Linked DNA regions of Homo sapiens: region 2 is linked to region 1. Evidence: promoter capture Hi-C in 16 types of primary human blood cells and fetal thymus (Javierre and others, 2016). All regions are on one chromosome and are shown on one strand. The core of a region is centred on a gene start or on the middle of the fragment in contact, and the rest is flanking DNA. Distances in the headings are between cores, read along the strand shown.

What was found. Contacts are between HindIII fragments. The CHiCAGO score rates a contact against its expected background, and 5 or more counts as called.
Region 2: a contact is called between a fragment that was not itself captured here and the fragment with the promoter of BEST1 in region 1, in 6 of 17 cell types (neutrophils, naive B cells, endothelial precursors and 3 more). The highest score is 10.2, in neutrophils.

What each region holds. Positions count from the first base shown.
Region 1 is chr11:61,947,384-61,951,672 of GRCh38, forward strand. BEST1 (bestrophin 1) reads left to right here and starts at 2,968. Exons shown (of 11, transcript NM_004183.4): 1 at 2,968-3,044. The HindIII fragment of the contact is 17,311 bases long and covers 1-4,289 here.
Region 2 is chr11:61,836,168-61,840,456 of GRCh38, forward strand. FADS2 (fatty acid desaturase 2) reads left to right here. Exons shown (of 12, transcript NM_004265.4): 2 at 1,611-1,721; 3 at 4,167-4,289. Among named protein-coding and RNA genes, the nearest start is that of FADS2, 10 kb to the left of the region's middle. RefSeq lists an enhancer at 2,566-3,123. The HindIII fragment of the contact is 3,248 bases long and covers 667-3,914 here.

The sequences.
Region 1 (4,289 bases), core at 1,718-4,217:
CATGGCTTGGGTCAATCAGCACTCATGACTTTGCTGTGTGCCTGAGCCGTGCCTGGCTAACTGGGGACATTTTCATAGCTGAGACCCAGTAGGAGAGACCATGACTTGTGCCAGGGTGTGCCTGTCTCAGCTCTGGGGCAGGGCCAGGAGCAGCTGCTCATGGGATGTCTCTGGGGACATGCTGGGGCCTCTGGGAGGGGAAGGGAGACTGGCCATGCACTGTCTATGGTCCTGGTGGTACTCCTGGGATATTGCCAAGGAGCCTGCGGTTCAGGGAACAGGGAGGAGGGACTCTAGTGTCTCCAACTCCCTCTCATGGCTCTATGGCTGCTGGTCGGGGTCAGGGAGATGAAGCAGTGCCAGCTCCGTGGTCTGCACTGATCCTGACCAGTGAACCAGGCTTCCCCAGCCAGAGCCAGCTAGTCAAGCACGCTCTCTAGTGGCCACCACAGGGAAGGCAAGAACTTGTCTCCACAAAGGCAGGATTTTCATTTATTCCTTCAGAGAGTACAGAATGAGCATCAATGTTCCAGGCATGGTGCCAGGCATGTGTGTTAACTTTAGTTAAAACATACTTATTGGCCGAGTGTGGCGGCTCACTCCTGTAATCCCACCACTTTGGGAGGCCTAGGTGGGAGGACTGCTTGAACTTAGAGCTCAATACCAGCCTGGGTAATGTAGTGAGACCCTATCTCTATAAAAAAAAAAAAAATAGCTGGGTGTGGTGGTGTGCGTCTGTAGTCCCAGCGACTTGGGAGGCTGAGATGGGAGGATTGCTTGAGCCTGGGAAGTGGAGGTTGCAATGAGCCAAAATCACACCCATTGCACTCCAGCCTGGGTGACCTTGTCTCAAAAATATAGTTATATATTTACTTATATATTTATATGTATAAATATATGTGTACATACAAATATATTTGTAATATTATAGACATATTAATACATATTTACATATGTTAATATATAAATATATATAATATATATTTATCATCTTCTAAATGGAAAGCTCTTGAGTTTCAGGATGTGTTGGTTGGGAAGGGAATACAGGATAGGGAAATAATCCATTAAGCAATGACTCAGCACAGGCCATAAAATCAGAATCACCTGGAGAACTTGAACAATCCCAACACCTGGGGTCCATCCAGACCAATCAAATCAGAATTCGTAGGGGTCAGGCACAGGCACCAGTGGTTTGGAGAGTTGACGGACACATGTCCCATCCATCATTCTCATTCGGCTGCCAAGGTAGGCATCGTTGTCCCATTTTGCATATGAGGAGACTGAGGCTGAAGTGAACCTGCTTCTTTCCCCATATCAGTTGAGGACAGCGATGGGGCAGCGGGGAGGCAGTAAATACTCCTACAAGGCTGCCTCTAAAGAGAGTCTTATAATAACAACAGCTTTATTGTTTGCCATGATTAGAAAAGTATTCAAGGTCATTGCGAAATAGTGTTTTTTTTTCTAGGCAGATAATTATATAAAGGCAAAAATGGTGTGTGGGGGTGGGGGACAAGGGGAGGGAGAGCATTAGGACAAATACCTAATGCACGCAAGGCTTAAAACCTAGATGATGGGTTGACAGGTGCAGCAAACCACCATGGCACACGTATACCTATGTAACAAACCTGCACATCATGTATACCTATGTAACAAACCTGTACATTCTGCACACGTATCCCAGAACTTAAAGTGAAAAAAAAAGTGGTGTGTAGAAAAATCACCTGCAATCTCAGCATAGTTAACGCTTAGTACATTTCAGAGAGAGAGGGTGACAGGAAAGGGAGGATGAGAGTGGGTTTAAGACACAAGGTCATATTATAAAATCAGGGCTTCTGGAAGTTTAGTCCCAAAACCACACATCTCATAATCCCCTGCAGTGCTTGATTAAAATGCAACATCCCTAAGGCCACAGACTCAGACTCTGGAGAAAGATCCAGAAAACTGCCCGTTTAATAAACATTTGGGCGATTCTTACGGCCTCTAAAGACCAAGAACCACTGCTGCCTAGAGCTCTGCTCTCTTCATTGAACAATACAAGAGGAGTGTGTAGGTAGACACCCACCACTTCCAACAGCTTAGGAGAGCCCTTGAGTATGGATTGATGTATTAAAATTTATTGAATCACATGCTGAGATTTTCACCAGCTGCCCGTGGGGATCTGGGCATTTATTCCCATATTGCACTGGCTGGCTGGAAGCCAGCAGCATAAACTCCAGGGCTGTTCTGTCAACCCCCACCAGACTCACCCCCCTCCACCAGCCCCGGCAGGCTTCTCCTTCCATCTCTCTGAAGCAACTTACTGATGGGCCCTGCCAGCCAATCACAGCCAGAATAACGTATGATGTCACCAGCAGCCAATCAGAGCTCCTCGTCAGCATATGCAGAATTCTGTCATTTTACTAGGGTGATGAAATTCCCAAGCAACACCATCCTTTTCAGATAAGGGCACTGAGGCTGAGAGAGGAGCTGAAACCTACCCGGGGTCACCACACACAGGTGGCAAGGCTGGGACCAGAAACCAGGACTGTTGACTGCAGCCCGGTATTCATTCTTTCCATAGCCCACAGGGCTGTCAAAGACCCCAGGGCCTAGTCAGAGGCTCCTCCTTCCTGGAGAGTTCCTGGCACAGAAGTTGAAGCTCAGCACAGCCCCCTAACCCCCAACTCTCTCTGCAAGGCCTCAGGGGTCAGAACACTGGTGGAGCAGATCCTTTAGCCTCTGGATTTTAGGGCCATGGTAGAGGGGGTGTTGCCCTAAATTCCAGCCCTGGTCTCAGCCCAACACCCTCCAAGAAGAAATTAGAGGGGCCATGGCCAGGCTGTGCTAGCCGTTGCTTCTGAGCAGATTACAAGAAGGGACTAAGACAAGGACTCCTTTGTGGAGGTCCTGGCTTAGGGAGTCAAGTGACGGCGGCTCAGCACTCACGTGGGCAGTGCCAGCCTCTAAGAGTGGGCAGGGGCACTGGCCACAGAGTCCCAGGGAGTCCCACCAGCCTAGTCGCCAGACCTTCTGTGGGATCATCGGACCCACCTGGAACCCCACCTGTGAGTACAAGGTGCCCCAGGTGGACTGGGCTGGGGCTTTGAGGCCTTCAGGGTTGGATGGCCATCTTGCGTATTTGTGTGGGATATGCACACACAGGCAGCACATGCGCAGGTGTGTGGGCACCTGTGTGTCTGTGCAAATGCCCTGAGGTGGGAATGAGCTTGGTGTGCATCAGGCACAGCCAGCCAGTGTGGCTGCAGCAAAACACACAGGGAAAGAATGGAGGGGGCATCAATCACTGCTTCAGTAAATTTTTATTGAGCGCCTTCTACGAGAACACAAGAGGAGCTTCCATTCTGAGGAGGAAACAGGCAGGAAACAGGCAGATATCCTGTATAATTTCAAGTAGTGATAAGTGCTCTCTAGAAATATCAAGCAAGGTGAGGAGACACAGAGCACCGGTGGCAGTGGGGCTCTATTTCCAGGTTGGATGGTTGGGAACATCCTTTCTAAAGGGAACCTGGAGTGGGAAGGAACCATGCAGGTATCTCAGGAAGAGCTTCCTCCAGGCAGGAAGATCAGCAGGTGGAAAGGCCCTGGAGCCACCATTCAGTAAACATCATTTGAGCATCTCTACCAGCTAGGTTCCATTATGGGAATGGGAATATGGTGGTGGACAGGGCTGCCTGGTCCCTTCCATACTTCTCACACTAGGGTGGTTGAGAGAGCTTGGGAGCTAACGAACAAGATGGGCTGAGAACACTGCCTAGCCCAGAGGACCTGAGCTTAGTGTGTAGACATTGCTGCTGTTACTGCCTTTGTCATTGTATTATTTATTTATTTATTTATTTATTTTTAGACAGAGTTTTGCTCTTCTTACCCAGGCTGGAGTGCAATGGCGTGATCTCAGCTCACTGCAACCTCCACCTCCTGGGTTCAAGCGATTCTCCTGCCTCAGCCTCCTGAGTAGCTGGGATTACAGGCACCCGCACCACGCCTGGATAATTTTTTTGTATTTTTAGTAGAGACAGGGTTTCACCATGTTGGCCAGGCTGGTCTCGAACTCCTGACCTTAGGTGATCCACCTGCCTCGACTTCCCAAAGTGCTGGGATTATAGGCATGAGCCACTGCGCCCAGTGATTATAGAAAGTTAAAGGCACATGGCAATGCACACGCCTATCTACGTCTTCCCTGCCAAAGCAAAGGGCAGCCTCTGGGCTCACTTTCTTGCGTTTCTACTTCCAAAAGGCAGTCAGAACTGGCAGGGCCTTGGAGACCACTTCATCCACCTCCTAGGGTCCCT
Region 2 (4,289 bases), core at 1,041-3,540, 110 kb before region 1:
GCTCACTGCAACCTCCACCTCCTGGTTTCAAAGGATTCTCATGCCTCAGCCTCCTGAGCAGCTGGGATTACAGGCGTGCGCCGCTACACCTGGCTAATTTTTGTATTTTCAGTAGAGGTGGGATTTCACCATGTTGCCCAGGCCGATCTCAAACTCCTAACTTCAGGTGATCGCCCTGCCTCGGCTTCCCAAAGTGCTGGGATTACAGGCATGAGCCACTGTGCCCGGCCTGTTTGTTTTTTGAGACAGGGTCTCACTCTCTTGCCCAGGCTGGAGTGCAGTGGCACCATCATTGCTTATTGTATCTTCCTGCCTCAGCCTCCCGAGTAACTGGAGTTATTGGTGCAGGCCACCATGCCTGGCTAATTTTGTTTATTCTTAGTAGAGACAGGGGTCTTGCTATGTTACTCAGGCTGGTCTTGAACTCCTGGCCTCAAGTGATCCTCCTGCCTCTGCCTCCCAAAGTGCTGGGATTACAGGCATGAGCCCCTGCGACCAGTCAAGAGTTGCAGTTTTTATATCATTTTAGTCTCTTTTAATCTAGACCATGCTTCCGTACTTTTGTTTTTTCCACAAACTTGTATGTTTTTCCCCAGCTATATTGATTTTTCTGATTGTTTCTCATGGTGGAGTTTGACTGGTTTGCCAATCCTACCAATGTCTGGAAGCTTGATTTGATGCAGATTACACAGTGTTCACCACTGGGACATTCTATTGCATCCCCTCAGGGGAGCCTGGTGCTGGCTCATCTCTAATAGAAATACTAGATTTTTTATGAGATAATTCATGTAATATGCATAATATGTATAGAAAAAAGCTGGAAGGAAAAATGCTAAAATATTAGCAATAATGACCACTTTCTGGGTGATATTTATTTTCCTCTTTATTCTGCTGTGCCTTTTCTAACTTGGCCAAAACTCAGCACGTTTTTACTTTATAATTGGGAAAAAAAGATTAAAATGTGTATCATTATAGCAGTGTTAGAGTTTGGAAAGTAATGAAAATAAAGCAAGGCATAATCCAGCTACCTTAACATGTGCAATAATAGCCTAGATCCTCCTAGGCTTTTTTTCAGGAACGCTTTTTACATAATTCTGTGTTTATTTTTTTATTTACTTCATCACAGCACATTTCCAGTGCCAAGGTAGTATTCGGTCTTGTCCTTTTCATTGACCACCCTGGACATGTAGGTGAGGAACTAGTAAGAGATGGTGGGTGGTGTGGTTTGTGCACCATGCAAGGCACTCAGCTCACGAGCAGTCGAGGCTCAAGTCCTCCCTGAGCCCCGTGTCTGCCTGGTGCGCCTTCCTGGAGGGTCACCATTTCCCGACCTGCCCAAAGGCAGCCTATGCATCTATTCACAAACCCCTGGGGAGTGTAGCATGCCTGCACCAGCACAGAAGCCCAGGTGGCTGTTGCCATTGGCGTTGGGCACTGAGGGCTCTGTCCTGGAAAAATGCTGGAGACGGCATTTGGGGCCAGATCACAGGAGACCCCGTTTGGTGTCTGGGTGCACACATGGAGCTGTTGCTGGTGAGCACTGTCCTCCTTGGGGCCCAAGAGCAGACAGAGTTCAGGTCTTAGCCTCATCACTGCCCTCTGCTCTCCAGGATGCCTTCCGCGCCTTCCACCCTGACCTGGAATTCGTGGGCAAGTTCTTGAAACCCCTGCTGATTGGTGAACTGGCCCCGGAGGAGCCCAGCCAGGACCACGGCAAGAACGTAAGTCTGGCTTGCAACCTGGGTGGGGGTGGAGACGAGGCTGGGGGTGGCTGGGAGTCTGAGAGAGGCTCCCCTTGCCCCATGACCAGTAACTGGGGCTGAGGCAGGGGTGCTTTTGTCCTGGAGGAGCCACTGTGGTTCACCTGTGTTCAGGGAGGGCCTCAGAGCCTCCCTGGGAGCCGGGGTTTGACAACAACTAGTGGCGTCTCCTCTCTCCTGGCCAGTTTCATTTTCCTTCTCCTCCATCCCTTTCCAGGAAGGTGCCAGATGACAATCTAGGGGAAAGACAGGACAGAAACACCGAAAAATGTCATTTGATGACAAGAGTGGCTTTGGGGTGTGTGGTCCGGGGCACCTCTTTGAGAAAGAATGACCATTCCCTGGTCATCTGTTCATTGTCTGCAGGTCAGACGCCCCCCTGGGTGCTGGGCTTCCAGGACAGCCATGTGTGAAAATAGCAACCCCTGAGGTCTCATGGGCTGTTGTTTTGTTCAACAATGAAGTCTCCATGTAAATGGCGGAGCCGTTTATAGAAGAAAGTTGGGACAGGAGGCAGGGGCAGGGCAGGACGGGGAGGAGAGTTGTTACAAGGAGAGGAGTGGTACCCACAGGCTGTGACCAGGGTGGTCATGGAAGTCCCACCCTGGCCTCAGCAAGCTCTTCCTCCTCTTGTTGCCAGCCTGGGCCAGACCCCTCTGTTTAGCAGAGCCAGGGCAGGACCAGGGTCTCTCCCGGCCTGGACTCTTGGCCAGTCCCCCACCACCCCCATTGCCTCTGGCTTTCCTGATGAGCTGCGGGCCACCCTGCAGGTCCTTCAAAGGCCAATGCCCCTCCTCTCACCTTGCCCTCCATGGCACATGAGATCACCTGCCCTGTACCCATGCCAGCCCATGCTTGTCCCCTCCTGCCTCCTTCGCAAGTGGGTCCATCTCCCACTCTCACCTCCAGCACCTCCTGGCCTGCGGCTTCCCCAGCTCTGCTCGTCCTGCCCTGTAGCTCCCTTGTCCATGGCCTTGCTCCTTGGCTCTCTCCACTGCTCTCCCTTTCTGCTGCAGATCCTGCACCATTTAGCATCCAAGCTCCCACCAGGCACCACCAGAACCACCCTTCATAGCACCTTGGTCATGCCCTGTGGGTACCGCTCCTCTCCTTGTATCCACTCTCCTCCCCGTCCGGCCCTGCCCCTGCCTCTTGTCCCAAGTTCCTTCTTCCTCGCAATGCCATTGTGTTCCCAGGGCCCTCCTTGACTCCGCTTTGCCTCCCTGGCTCCATGTGCCCGGGACTCACAGCCCCCTCCTGCCTGCCTCAGCTCGCCCTCCTGCGCTAGTTTGTGTCGCCCCCAACTCAACCCCTCAAGACCCAACAGTGTGCGCAGAGCAAGTGGTGCTCTGTTTGGTGGTGGAAAATGCAAGTTTTATTTTTCTTTTCTTTTCTTTCTTTCTTTTTTTTTTTGAGATGGAGTTTTGCTCTTGTTACCCAGGCTGGAGTGCAGTGACACCATCTCGGCTCACTGCAACCTCCGCCTCCAGGTTCAAGCAGTTCTCCTGCCTCAGCCTCCCATGTAGCTGGGATTACAGGTGCCCATCATCATGCCTGGCTAATTTTTGTATTTTTAGTAGAGATGGAGTTTCACTATGTTGGCCAGGCTGGTCTCGAACTCCTGACCTCAGGTGATCTGCCTGCCTCGGCCACCCAAAGTGCTGGGATTAAAGTTTTCTTTTTTAAAAAAGTGTGGTCAACCATTTTGGTCATTTGACGTGTACAGTTCAGTGGCATCAAATAAGCACATTTACATTGTTATGTAACCATCACCACCATCCAGTTCTCATCTTCCCCAAATTGAAATTCCACATCCATTAAGCACTCACTCCTCATTCTCCCACCTCTCAGCCCCTGGCAGGCACCATTCTACTTTCTGTCTCTGAATTTGGCCTCTCCAAGGACCTCCTGTATATGGAATCATACAATATTTGTCCTTTGGTGACTGGCCTGTTTCCCTTAGCATGATGTCTTCAAAGTTCACTCACATTGTAGCATGTGTCAGAATTTCCTCCCTTTTCAAGGCTGAGTAATATTCCATTGCATGGATAGACCACGTGTTGCTGATCCATTCATCCATCACGAGATCTTTGTGTTGTTTCTACCTTTTTCCTGATGTGAATAGAGCTATGAACACAGGGTGTATAAAATGCAAGCTTTTGAGTCAAAGCCTTTCTCTGTCACTCTTACCTAGCTGTGACAAATATACAGGCCCCAGGGCTGTGTGGGGCATGTGGTAACAGCAGCTATTGTAGGGACTCCTGGAGGGTCGAGGCTTGTGGCTTGGCCCCCTCTTGCCACAGCTTCTCTGGGTTGTGCATTGGCTGTTGAAATGGCAGCTCGAGACATATGTTCCCTCCAGAGTGGCTGGTGGCTGACTCCTTTCCCTGTGCTCTTGGTCAACAGTCAAAGATCACTGAGGACTTCCGGGCCCTGAGGAAGACGGCTGAGGACATGAACCTGTTCAAGACCAACCACGTGTTCTTCCTCCTCCTCCTGGCCCACATCATCGCCCTGGAGAGCATTGCA